Linked DNA regions of Homo sapiens: region 2 is linked to region 1. The links are contacts of gene promoters, found by promoter capture Hi-C in blood cells and fetal thymus (Javierre and others, 2016). All regions are on one chromosome and are shown on one strand. The core of a region is centred on a gene start or on the middle of the fragment in contact, and the rest is flanking DNA. Distances in the headings are between cores, read along the strand shown.

Region 1 (6,795 bases), core at 2,941-5,440:
AGTTATCCAAAATTTATGTTAAATGACTTTGGTTTATGGATAGAACTTTAACATTAAATGACGCTGAAAATACTCAGGCCCCATATTGGCCTTATTCTATCAACAGACTTTAATATTTTTCTCAGAAATTAGATGAGGGCATTATATTCCAAATAAAATTCTCAAATAATACAGTAAATAGAATTTTCTAAAAAATACCATTTATGACTTCTCTCTCTATATATAACATCTCAAGCACTAGAATTAACAAATGCAGAATTAATGTACATTTGTCACCTGACAAAATCTTATGTAATCTGTTTATTCTCCAGAATAATCACCACAAGTGCCATTTTGCAGGTTTTAATATTTGTTAAAAGGCATTTTTTTTTAAAAAGTTTGTATCATCTCTTCCAACAATCTGTCATTACTTTAAGAATATACCACTTTCCTTTTTCCTTTCTTACTAGATTCCAAGTTTTATATTAATGTATCCTTGATGCATGTTTCCTTTTAAGCCTGGGTCATATCTCTTGTGTGACCTTCCCAATAGTTCTTTGTACAGAAGCTATTAAGTTCATATCAGAAGAAAAACATTTCTAAAGTTAGGATATTCCTAATTATTTTTATTTTCGAAACTTACTGCTATTGGTTAGTATTAGCAGAAAAAGTAGAATATAGAATTTTTTATAAATTGAAGCTACTAAGACTTGATAGGGTCTATCTTTTCTCATAATGATAATTGATAATAAACTAAGTATAAAGTGGTTATTATTCGACTAGCAACTTCCAATTCACTCATGTTAAAGGAAACCCTATTCCTATTTTAAAAACCTCATAAACTTTAGGAAAGAATACTGAAAATTGAGTATGCTTTCTATAATTTTGCCACGCTAGATTAAAAAATAGCTTCTTATGTTTAATATATTGTTTTCCTCTAGCAAGTTTCAGTAATGAAAAGGGTTTTTTTTTCAACTAAAAATGTTTAAATTTAGAATACTTAATTTTAAAATAATGCTCTGATCATAAGTATCTATAAAAATGCCTATTATTTATAATACTTACGTCTGTGGAAGCTCGAAGCTGAATGCATATTCATGCCTTCCTGAATGAATAGTGTGGAAGCCTTCTTCGGAATTATCATCATCTAAAACAAACATAAAAAGAAAACAAAGAATTTATTATTCAACATTTACATACTCCGCAGGGTGGCATAACTTTAAAGATGCTTACATAACAATTAAGACCACAAAACAAGCTTTGGAGTCTGAGAGATCTGAGTTCTAATTCTAACTTCATCATTTCCTCTGGACAAAATAAAAATCCTGTCGTCAGCTGCCTTATCTGTAAAATGGGGATAATGAATACTCACACCCCACAGGCTTTTTATTTTTTCTAATGGAAAATGACCCAAACTGCAAAGCATCTGTTTATAAAATAGTATATATACTCAAAAGGCTCGGGTCTCACATCATGGTAAGACAATGCTATCCTTTGTCTCCAACGGTTTGCTTAAATTTATCACATTAAGACTATAATGTATCAAAGAAAAACTGTTCATGCAACCCTCTTAAAATATGTCAGTTTATAGGGAATAATAATACCAGATGTGAATAGAATAGATACTCCAAAACCACTAGAAAACCTTGTCAAATAGACGGAGTAAAAAAAAAAAAAAAAAAAGCCACACATTGATTTTAATGTCAGATTTATAACTAAAAATAATTATTTATTGAACTAAAAATAATTATTTATTGATCTAAAATGATCACAACACTCAGTTGGTCCTAGCAACGACTAAAACTTGCATAAACTATACCTTAGATAATTACAAAGAACCGCATTTAGGTGGTGTCGGCTTATAAGGAAACAATATTTTCCAACATCCTTGAAAAAAATGAAGTCTAACTATTAATAGTTTCCAGTTTCTATAAAAAAGGGATGACCTTTCATTTTACAACCAATTTTTTTGGTGAAATTATTTTTTTTCAAGTGGCATGAAAATAAATATAATCGAAAATATGGGAGGGGGTTCTAGATCATTAAAGTGCCTATTTAGCGTTTTAAATAATTACAGAAATATCTTTTAAAGTTTTCTTGGTGTAGAAACCTTTACGATTAGCCCCCAGAGTAGAAAAAACTGGCACATTATTTAACTTTCCTTCAGCAAAGTATTGGATATACACAAAAAACGTGATGCCTCCCTGATATTAAACGAGAAAAAGGGGGAAAAAAGCATGTATACGTCGATACTTTCATTTAAAAATCATGGTGATTCGCTTATGTCTCCATACAATTTTCCTCGTCCCCTGTGCAAATTCCCCTGAACGGATTTCAGAACCAAAAACTAGCTGATGAGCTGGGGGCCATTTAAATTCGCTCCCCTCGAAGGCGCCCGAAGTTCGCCTTCCTTTCCCTTTCTTCCCTCTTCGCTCCCTTTTTGTGCCAGCTCAGCAGTCTCATTGAAGCGAGCGGCGGCGGCCGCGCCGTGGTAAACAAGTGCCGGGCTGTCAATCAAGAACTAGACCGGAGCAGGAGAGGACCGGCCTAAACCGGCGCGAGCAGATCCCAGCCGGCCTGCCCGCGCGCCGCCGCCGCCGCCGCTGCCGCCCGCGCGCCCCGCTATACATACGGCATACGTCGCGCGGCGCTCGCGCCCGTGCCCGCGCAACCTAGCCTGCTGGCCGGGGGGCGGGGCGAGCGAGCCGCGGCGCTTCCGCTTTACACGCCCCAGCCGGCGACCGGTTCCATCTGGCTCGGGCCACTCTGACACCTTTAGTTTCGGCAAGGGATATTGGGGTGGCGAAGGGGAGGCGGGGGCCCGAAGGCTTCGGAAAACGATGGGGGAGGGGGCAGAGGATACCCGTCGAAGCCCCCCCCTCCCCCAACATTTCGATATTGGAATCACTTTCCTTCTTCCTCGGGCCAGCCTTTGCTCTGTCCCCTCAGGTCAACTCAAGGTAGACAGTGTGGCGACTGGAGAGGTCGGGGAACAAGCTTTGTTTCAGCTAAGGGGAAAACAAGCGTTCACAGGAGTCCCCTGACACCTCCCACTCGGAAGATAGCTAACGGGGGTCCTGCCAACCCTTCCCATCCAACTTCCATCTGAAAAGGATTTTCTGCTAAAGTTGGGTCCATGGCCATCCAGCACCTGTAAGGCCGGCAGGAGCGTCTGCCCTCTACTCAGTTAAAGCCTGAAGTCGTTTCCTTTCGATGGCCCTTAGGAGGCCCAAAAGAGGGGCGACAGAACATGATGTTGACACGGGCTGGGCGCCCCCAGAAGCCCGGGAACAAACGTGAGTACGGGCTGGGTGGGGGTCGCTCTGGAGGAACCTTTACCGGCGCACGCCGGTTTCCTAGCCTCGCCCCAGCCGCGGCGCGAGCTCACTCTCCCCACCCGCCCGCGCCCAATCCAATCAGCGCCTGCCATCGCCTTAGCAACAGGCTAACAAACCTGGCTCCGCCTATCCCGGGCGCCCGGGGCGGGGTCTCAGTTACCAGGCTAGTTTGAGAGCTCCCAGTTTCAAGTCATTGAAACTATTCCAGACTGAGCTCGTCTACGCGTTGCAGGGTTTGGGGGGCATTTTGTTGGGGGTGCAGGGCATTTAGTTTTCTTTACCACGAAATCATGGTGCAACTAATGAAATTATATTTGTCCTCACATCTCGTTGTTCTACTTTTCCCCACTGCAAGTCTTAACCCCTTGAGGAAAAATCTGTTTTCTTTCATCCGTTTCATAAAAGGCTGCAATATTCAGAAAGGTACAAACACAAAGTCATCTATCTGCTTTTCAACAAATACCAAGGCTGTCATTAGGCATTTGCATCTCCTATCAGTGTTAACACTTGGAGAGATTAATTAGTTATTTCAGGATGCAAAGTACCTGTATCTAACTACGAAAATCCTGCTAAAGAACTGAGTTCACCTTAATAGTTTCAAAAATAATGCATTAATACTGTCCCTCAAAGCATCCTTCATTTCTCACTTGCCTTAGTCATCAGCACTTCTCCAGGATGTACGTTTTTAATATAAAAAATAAGGTAAAATATGTCTCTAATTTTTTTTCTGAAAAATCGCCAACATCTGAACTAAATACTGCATTAAAAAGGAGAGGCACAAAAATTACATAACCAGTTTTAACATTATATTCTTCTTGGGCTAGGAATTAAGTCATCGCCACCACCTGACGCGTGTAACCAATCTGCTGAGAGCAGAACAAGCGCCCCTCCTCACCACCCCCCAGAACTGGTCCGAAACAGGATTGAACCGCTTCTAACAAAGGGTGGAAACTTAGAAAAACAAGCCTAGAGTCTCCTATATTTCCACAATGTAACCATTTAAACAATAGATTGGAAATCTCAGGACTCCTTCTCCTTTTGACAACCCTTTATCTCTCTCTTCTAACCAAAAATCAAATCCAGTGTGCCCTATACTTTTCAATTCCATTTGACTGGCATGGGTTTCATTGAATGCACGTTCCAAAGTTAGACATGATGCTCGGAAAAGAAAATTACTGATCCTAAATGGCTTCTAAACCTGACTCGATACCTATCATAATGACAGATAGTCATTCCTTTAAAATAAGGAATGCTGGGTGTAAATTTTTAAAGGAATGGTAAAGAATAGAGAAAAAACACGTGGGGTGTTGATACCATATGTCAAAATAAGCCACAGAAATCTTTTATGAAAGAACAGTCATCAATTATTTAAAGTCTTTTGCATTCCAATATTAAAAATGAAACACACCCATTAAGTCTCTTAAAAATGTTATTACATTTCTTGATCGAAGTTCAGTTTTTACATCTTAGGTTGCAAGTAAAAGGGCAAAAATCTAAGACTGCAGCTTTTACCAATTCATTTGAAAATATATTAGTAAAACGACTGAATTGGATTCAAACAGAATTTATAAGTAAGGTGCAAATGGACTACAAGTGCGTGTGGCACAGACCGAGCCGGGTACAGAGGTAGCTGAATAAGTGTAGTTTGCAGTCACTTTGCAGATGCCTGCATGCATTACGGCTTAACACACGATGAACGTCAAGGAGAATCCAAACCTTCCAACTTTGCTAACCTTTCTCAAACTGCTTAGTTATGCTAGGAGTAGAATCACGTTAATTCAGAAAACTGAAAAGGTACGTTTCCAAAGAAAATGAGTCCAATGACTTATGAATAACAAAAACTTACCTCTTTCGTGCCCAATTAAGATGTCTTTATGGTTGAAATACTCTACTTCTTCAGTGTAATTCTGTGTATAGGCAGTATTGGAGCCGGCGTTTCTAGATTCAGTCCAGCGTACTTTCGCATGTCCTCTTGCATGAATTTTAAGAGATTTTACTCTGATTTCCCCAGTAACTTCTAAATTTACCCTTCCTGAGACGGTATCCCCACTAGAATACACAGGGACATTGCTGTCATTAAGACAGTCAAAGCTTATTGTCAAACTCTTCACCTTTCCCAGCACCATGTTTATAACAAAATCTATAAAAATATAATGTAAGACAAAAAAGTCAAGATCGCATATAAAATGTGATCTTCACTTAACACTGATCGATATTTTTGCCGTGCAAAATGCTTGCAGGCCGGATCAGTGATTCTCTACAAATAGTTCATTGAGATTTCTTAAAAAGTCAGGGCAGCAGAGGCTGCTGCTCCGCGCTCCCGCTCGTCTCAGTGGTCTCCTTACAAAGACGGGCGGCTAAAAGCTGCCAGCTCACTTTAAGAGCAGCTTTGTGAAAAACAACCCCAGTGCGCAGGCGCAGGCCGCGGCTGCTGTCCGCCCTCCCTGCGCGCCCCCTCCCGCGCCGCGCCGCGCCGCGCTCGCTCCCTTGCCCGCTCGCTCCCGGGTACAGTAGGTGTAGAGCTAGGGGAAGGAGATACTGGAGCTGCTGGCCGGCTGAACCTGACTTCTCTTCATTGTGGGCTCCTATTGGTAGGCAGGCTACCGTATACCCTCGACGTGCTATCTGGAGCCCGTTACCGAGCGCACTCTACTAGAAAGATAATGGCAGAGTGGGGTGCGAGGGTACAAGGGCTGGGTGGGGAGTTTGCAAAGCCAAGTTAGGATAAACTGCAGCGACCAGCCCGAAGCGTGCGTTACCGGCACTGCAGCGTTTTACCAACTGCCTGGATGGGAGGAGGAAAAAGTGATGTGTGAAGAGAGATGGGGGAAGGGAGAAACCGGTTGGGCAAGCGGCCGATTGTTGAGCATAATCTAACGAATTTCCAAAGAAAACGTAATAAAACCGGACAAGAAATATTGTTCATAGACAAGAGCATACTTTGCTTGGATTTTTTTTTTTTAAACCAGTACTTTGTAGGCAGGTTGGAAATGAACTCAGTCGAGGTCAAAGGAACCTTAATCCTTTGAAGAGCGAGGTAGAGAAGCAAGTACAATGTAATCAATAGGCTTTGCTGTCTCCTCAACTTCTTTCTCCTACATTGCTTAATTAGCACCGAAAAACAACCAAGTTGTTTCCAGGATGACACGGGTGGGGGCTGGGGGAAGCTTGATCACTTCCTCGAAGGAAGAAAAAGTCCTTTTAAGACACCACCTACGGCTAGATTTGCAGAGTAAGACATGATTACAACTCCTGTGTCCAGAGGAATAAGAATAGAGTTCGGCCTAAAAAAGTACTACCTTATAAAAGGCATATGACATAGTGGTTTAGCTGACATATTGTTTGCAACAGAATCGGAAAATCTTTGTTAGAAATTAGTGAAGCGCATAAAATTGTTTTTAAAAAGCATGATTTGGTATATAAATAGGGATTTAACTGTGTGAAGCTTTAATTTTCGGCCGAGAGCCTTGGACCATTT
Region 2 (6,795 bases), core at 1,372-3,871, about 29 Mb before region 1:
CTATATAATCCTAATAAAAACAGTAGTTCTTAGTAGGGTATATATCTTAGTGATTAATTAGTAGTTACTAATTCAGGATCTTATTAGTAGTAGTTCTAGTTAGGATTATATATCTTGTTAATGTCTCAGCCAGAGTTAGAATATTTGATCCAGGATGTTGATGGAAACATAGCCACATTGCATGTATTTATGGCTGCTCTTTAGGAAGCCACTAGCATACAAAGCCCATAATGAAAGTCTTGGTAAATACATATGCTGATGTGTACCAAAAAAAGTAAGCCTTTTGGGTATGTCTTATAAAGGAAAGGTTTTGTGTTTGTTAAGTGTTATGTCATACATTTTTATGGAGCAAAACAATGTACATATTTTAAAAATACCTTTTATATGGATTAAAGGTTAAGATTAACCATATAAACCACAGAGTGTAAGGTATGTGTCAGCAACCACGATACAAAATAATATTTTATTGGCTGGACGTGTTGGCTCACGTAATCTCAACACTTTGGGAGGCTGAGGCGGGAGGATCATGAGGTCAGGAGATCGAGACCATCCTGGCTAACACGGTGAAACCTCGTCTCTATTTTAAAAATACAAAAAATTAGCTGGGCGTAGTGGCACACGCCTGTAGTCCCAACTACTTGGGAGGCTGAGGCAGGAGAATAACTTGAACCTGGGAGGTGGAGGTGGCAGTGAGCTGAGATCATGCCACTGCACTCTAGCCTAGGCACGACAGAGTTAGACTTCGTCTCTAATAATAATAATAATAATATTTTATGAAACAATGTTAACTTTGAGCTGTATAGCTTGATTTCTTTGCATTCTTTATAAAGTATAAATAAAATATAAATAGATGTTTTATACCTCAGTTGCAGAGACATCAGAAAATGAATTCTAGACAGGAGCTTGAAGAGTTCAGATAAAACTCCCAAAATTATAGAAAAAATAAAAACTAAACCCTGATTTGGTCAAATTTCACTTGAAACCGGGGTACTCAAGTGTGTCATTTCTGGAATGTAAAAGAAGTTATTTTCCACATTGTCTATCCAGTGTGGTTTTTTTTCCATAGAAATTATATGCACTTTAGAATGGATTCAATAGAATTGTTCTTTTGACAGGTATACCTTCAATATGTTCAAGCTACAGATGAAGCCAGTCTTTTAACAGTTTTTTAAGGACCTACATGATTACTTACATTAGATAGAAAACTCTAGGCACACATATATCCACATAAGCATTGATGTATATATCCAGTTTCCAATTTTAAAATTTTAAATTGTATATTTGTAGTTATTGTTACAGGGAGATTATCAATGACTAGGGAAGGCCGGGCGCAGTGGCTCATGCCTGTAATCTCAGCACTCTGGGTGGTGGAGGCGGGTGGATTACCTGAGGTCAGGAGTTTGAGACCAGCCTGGCCAACATGGTGAAACCCCGTCTCTACTAAAAATACAAAAATTAGCCAGGCGTGGTGGCGCGGGCCTGTAATCCCACCTACTCGGAAGGCTGAGGCGTGAGAATCGCTTGAACACAGGAGGCAGAGATTGCAGTGAGCGGAGATCGCGCCACTGCACTCCAGCCTGAGCGACAGAGCAAGACTCCCCCTCAAAAACAAACAAAACAAAACAACAACAACAAAAAACAATGACTAGGGAAAGTAGGCCATGAAAAGTGTTGTTTCCAACCTATCAATTGCCAGTACTACAAGCAGGAGTTAGACGTTTGGAGGTTTTCACACGGTGCTATAAATACAGTTTCCAGGGCCCCGGTACACGTGGCCTTCCTGCTCTGCCAGGATGGAGAGTCTTGCTTTCCACATTGCTGATGTGGTCAGACTAATTAAATTATTGCAAAAAGACACATTCCCTAGTCAACCTTATGTGTCTGCCTTCTTCCCTTGAGTCACAGTTGTTGGCTTTACAGGCCAAGGCAAGTAAGTCTTGAACCCTCAGCAGAAACAGGGCACCAGCATCGGATGCCTCATAACCTGAACAGTTAAGGACGCCCCACCACAGAGCTTCTTTCTGAGTGTGATAAACTATAAGGCAAGACTGTAAAGGGGTGGATCTTCATTTCGATTTAGGGTAGGTGACACCTCAAGGGTGTTTCTTCCCTTCCAGCGTAACTGGATGGGAAACCTACACCAAGTGTGCTTGGGAGGGCTGCTTGGGTCAGCTACCTGTAAGTGGAAATAGGGGGTGCCACCTTCCGATGAAAACCCGGATCCCGTACTGTCAACGGAGGGCCCTTGAATTCACATCCCTCAGCCCGCTAGAAAGCCCCTGAAACCACGTGGCCTTTAACCCATTCCGGCAACAGCGCCAATTCCCGGAAGCGAGAGGGCAAGAAAGCTCGGCGCGACGCTTCCCGCGTCTTCTAGGCCGCGCGCTGAAATCAAACGCGACGCCGGCTAGCTGTGGGCCGGGCCGAGCGCTCAACGCTCCAGCGGCTGGGTAAGCCGCGGCCGCCGCCCACCCCGCTGCAGAGCTGGGCGGGGCCGCCTGGAGGCAGCGGGGAGAGGCCAGCCGAAAAGGAAGAAGAGACGCCGGAGGCGCGCTCTGCGCAGGCGCGCGGCGCCCCGCCTCCCCAGCGTCGGCTCCCCGGCGGGCGGTGCGGGCCCTCCCACTCTACCCCGCGCCGTCTCACGGCCCCGGCCCTAGCTTCACCCCGACTACCCGGCGTGCGCGTCCTCCTGCCGGCCTGCAGGCCCGGGGCCTCCGCCTGCTTCCCCACAGCTGCTCCTTGCGGCCCCGCTTGCGTTCACGCTGTCGCCCGGGCCGGCGCGGCCGCGGGCAACCGCTCCCCCTCCCACACCTACCCCGCCCCCTCCCCGCCTTTTCCGCCCTCCGGTCCCCCTCCCTCGGCCCGCTGCTGCTGCTCCAGATGAGGTGATGGCAACGGCCAACTTCGGCAAGATCCAGATCGGGATTTACGTGGAGATCAAGCGCAGCGATGGTGAGCCGCGCTGCCAGCCCCGCTGGCCCGCTCGGCCCCGTGTTCGGGTGTGCACGGAGGGGACGCGGGCGCCGGCCGCCTCATTGATTGCTTCGCCGGGCTGTGGGGGTGGGAAGGCGGCGGCCGCGGCGCTTTTGTGTGTGGCGTGTGTGCCAGTGAGGCCGGCTTGGGGTCCGCCCGGGCGCTGCTGCAGTTCTCCGGATCGGGCCGCGGGGGAGGGAAGCCGGGTGGGGAAAGGGCCCGGGTGTCGAGGGTCGCGTCTCCGGGGGTCTCTGGGCGAGGGCCGCTCGCTCCTCCTCCCGCAATCTCCAGCCCCCCCCCGGGGACACCAGCCCGGGAGGGAGCGGGCTTCGTTAGGGATGACCCTGCCTCGCGCTTCCCCTTGGTCTTTGCATTTTACCGGCTTGGCCTCTGACGGGGATGGGGATGGGGGTGGGGGAGCGGGAAGACCAGCGATTTCACATTTAGAGAACCGACTGCTGGTCGGAGGCCGAGATGGGGGGAAAGAGCCAGTTCCGTCGCCTTAAACTGCCGTCTGGTTGTCAGGCCTCCCCGGTTTCGTCGTCGACCATGCTGCTTTCTTTTTTGCCACTTCTTGGGAGAAAAATGTGGAGAATATCGCGCTGAGCCATGAATAAGGGTGGGGGAGCAATGGGAAGAAATATTCGATGGGCTTCTCCAAGGTGATGAGACTGTAAAGGGAATGATAGGGGATGGGCAGAGTCAATGCGAGGCACTGCTGAGAGAGTGGGGGTGGGCGACCGGATGTTGATATTTTCACACCCTCGGGAGAGGTAACTGAGAAAAGTGTAAGGCGAGGTGAAGACACATGCTTCATTTTTTTTTTTAAGAGCCTTAGGCTTATGTATCTTTCTCTAGGTTTCTCTTGGGGAAAATGGTTTATGACACTAGCTTGGGGTGTGGAGTGAGATACGCCAGCCAGACTGGAAATAATTCATATTGTAAAGGAATAAATGCACGGAGGGAGATAAGTAAAATTATTTTCTTTCGGTACCAATATTGAAAGAACGAGAGATGTGTGATAATCTCGAGTTGAGCAGTGTTCCTGACTCCATCTCTCATACCGATTCCTTTTTTTTTTTTTTTGAGACGGATTTTCACCCAGGCTGGAGTGCAGTGGTGCGATCTCGGCCCACTGCAACCTCCGCCTCCCGTGTTGAAGCTATTCTTGTGCCTCAGCCTCCTGAGTAGCTGGGATTACAGGCGTTGTCACCACACCCAGCTAATTTTTTGTATTTTTAGTAGAGACGGGGTTTCACCATGTTGACAAGGCTGGTCTCGAACTCCTGACCTCAAGTGATCCACCTGCCTCGGCCTCCCAATGTGCTGGGATTACAGGCGTGAGCCATCGCGCCTGGCCTCGATTCCTTTTATGAGTGCCTTATTTATTAACCTTTAGCCTAGCCTAGTCAGTAGTAACTTGGCTGTCACGTCCACGTGCCCCTTGGATTCTGCCAGGTTTGACCAAGTTACGTGAAGCTAGATTGATTTTCATGTTGTGTGTATGATATATTGGAAGACCCTATATAGCTAATGATTTTTTCCTCCGTTATATTTGAAGTAATTTGTGGTAACAACTGAAACCATCGTTATCCTGTATATGAAAAGATAAATTATACCGCTTAGAGCTTTAGAAATTACCAATAACACTAATGGGAAAGAGATACCTTCTTTACTTGGGTTGAGGTTTCTTTTATATTTTCTCTTCAGATTACTTTCTTGAAAGAGTGCTGTTAATGTCATTTTTTTAGGTAAATACGAGTTCACAGTATACCAGCAAAAGTAGGATTTACATATTATTTTGAAGATTCTGGGTGCACAGCAACACCTGTCCCTGGTATACACCCAAGGGAGAGGAAATCACCACCTTGTGAAGATATCTGCACTCTCGCGTTCATTGCAGCATTATTCACAGTAGCCAAGATAGGGAAGCAACCTAAATGTCCATCGATGGGTGAGGAATGGCTAAAGAAATTATGTGTGTGTGTATACGTTTATGTGTGTGTATAGACAATGTACAATGGAACATTATTCAGCCTTAAAAAAGGAGATCCTACTGTTTACCACAACATAGATGGACCTGAAGGACGTTATGTTAAATGAGATAAGCCAGACACCAAGGAAAATATTGCATAATCTCACTCATATGTAGAATATTTTTTTAAGGAGCTAAAATACACAGAACGAAACAGTGGTTACTACTGGTGGTGGGGAAGGAGAGGAAATGGGGAGATATAGGTCAAGGATACAAAATAGCAGATATGTAGGATGAACAAGTTTAGAGATACAGGGGGACCAATGTTAGTAAAATTGTATTAGAGATTTTTGTTAAATAAGTGGATTTTAGCAGCTCTTGTTAAAGTATGTGAAATGATAGCTATATTAATCTGCTTCACCATTTTGCTGTCTATATTCCATAGCATCATGTTGTAAACCTCAGTTGCACAATGAAATTTATTTTTTAAAAAATTAGGGTGCAATAAAATGTGTAAATTCTTTACACTCATAAGTATGAGTATAGGTGTTAACTTTGAAATCGTATCAGAAAAAGTATATGATATTTGATTTATACATTTTAATTTCTACGGAGCATATTTTATTTAAATTTATTGAACTTGAAGCAATTTTCGTTCTTTTCAGCCTTCACCTTCAGCCTATACCAGAAGTTCCCAGACATACAAGAGCTTTGTGTTCTTACATAAGTGCTACTAACCTAAAGCCACATTTCAAAAGCGGTTTGCCTATAAGAAATTAGGGAAGTCATCACAGTGTGTTATTATCCTAACCTATGGTCATGTATCTTTTTATGTGCCTCAGATGCATGATGGAGTTGGTGGAAGGCAGGAGATTAGTAGAGAACTTCGAAAGAACAGAAGGATCATTTGCATTGGACAGTAGTGTTTCACAATAGAAATTGATGTCTGGGAGAATGCCCCTCAAGCTTTCCCTTTTTCACTTTAAAGAAGCTTGTTTGCTTCCTCTCACTTCCATAACGTCTATATTGGATAAAACACTAGTGGTTATTATAACAAAAATAAACTTTGCAGTTGGAGGAACACTAATATCTGAGACAGTAGAAATGACATGAGTAAAGAAGGGCTGCTTCAGACCATTATTAACTGGTGACTTGATGTTTTTCTTTTGGCTTGCTGATGGCGATCCATGTCCCTATTTCAGACCACACTTTTCCCATCAGTGATACTCTTACACTAATAAACATATCCCAAGGGCAAACAGGTACACTAAAATGAGCTTATTCCTATCTTTCAAGACCATGATGAAAACTATCCTAATGAGTCTTCACTGATTACTAAAACCAGATGGCCAGTCAGCATCTGAATTCCTAAATCATTCTGTATTATTCATGAGACAGCATATTTCCTTAAGTATTAATGTTTGGGTCTGTAACTTTTTTTTTTCCACTCCTCTCAGCTCATACCTATGGGTACATATTCTTAATACTATGTTTTTAAACTGCATGGGGTAATGGGACTTACTAATAACTAATAATTCTTTTTTTTTTTTTTTTTGAGACAGAGTCTCGCTCTGTCAGTGGTGCGATCTCCGCTCACTACAACCTCTGCCTCCCAGGTTCAAGCGATTCTTATGCCTCAGCCTCCCAAGTAGCTGGGACTACAGGTGTGTGCCACCATGCCCGGCTAATTTTTGTATTTTTAGTAGTGACAGGTTTTTGCCACGTTGGCCAGGCTGGTCTCGAACTCCTGGCCTCAAGTGATCCACCCACCTCAGCCTCCCAAAGTACTGGGATTACAGGTGTGAACCACTGTGCCCAGCCTCTAATGACTCTTAAATTCCCTGAAT

The links. The method cuts DNA at HindIII sites, captures the fragments that hold promoters and counts their contacts. A CHiCAGO score of 5 or more calls a contact.
Region 2: a contact is called between the fragment with the promoter of KIF2A here and a fragment that was not itself captured in region 1, in 3 of 17 cell types (total CD4 T cells, non-activated CD4 T cells and naive CD8 T cells). The highest score is 9.4, in total CD4 T cells.

What each region holds. Positions count from the first base shown.
Region 1 is chr5:91,377,650-91,384,444 of GRCh38, forward strand. It overlaps ARRDC3 (arrestin domain containing 3), which reads right to left and starts at 5,668. Exons shown (of 8, transcript NM_020801.4): 1 at 5,164-5,668; 2 at 1,045-1,126. The coding sequence starts at 5,443. ARRDC3-AS1 (ARRDC3 antisense RNA 1) reads left to right here and starts at 2,698. Exons shown (of 3, transcript NR_027435.1): 1 at 2,698-3,275. RefSeq lists silencers at 2,560-2,739, 3,360-3,429, 5,575-5,884 and enhancers at 5,738-6,255, 6,135-6,434. The HindIII fragment of the contact is 2,432 bases long and covers 2,975-5,406 here.
Region 2 is chr5:62,303,585-62,310,379 of GRCh38, forward strand. It overlaps KIF2A (kinesin family member 2A), which reads left to right and starts at 2,622. Exons shown (of 21, transcript NM_001098511.3): 1 at 2,622-2,952. The coding sequence starts at 2,889. RefSeq lists a silencer at 2,326-3,355. The HindIII fragment of the contact is 9,341 bases long and covers 1-5,912 here.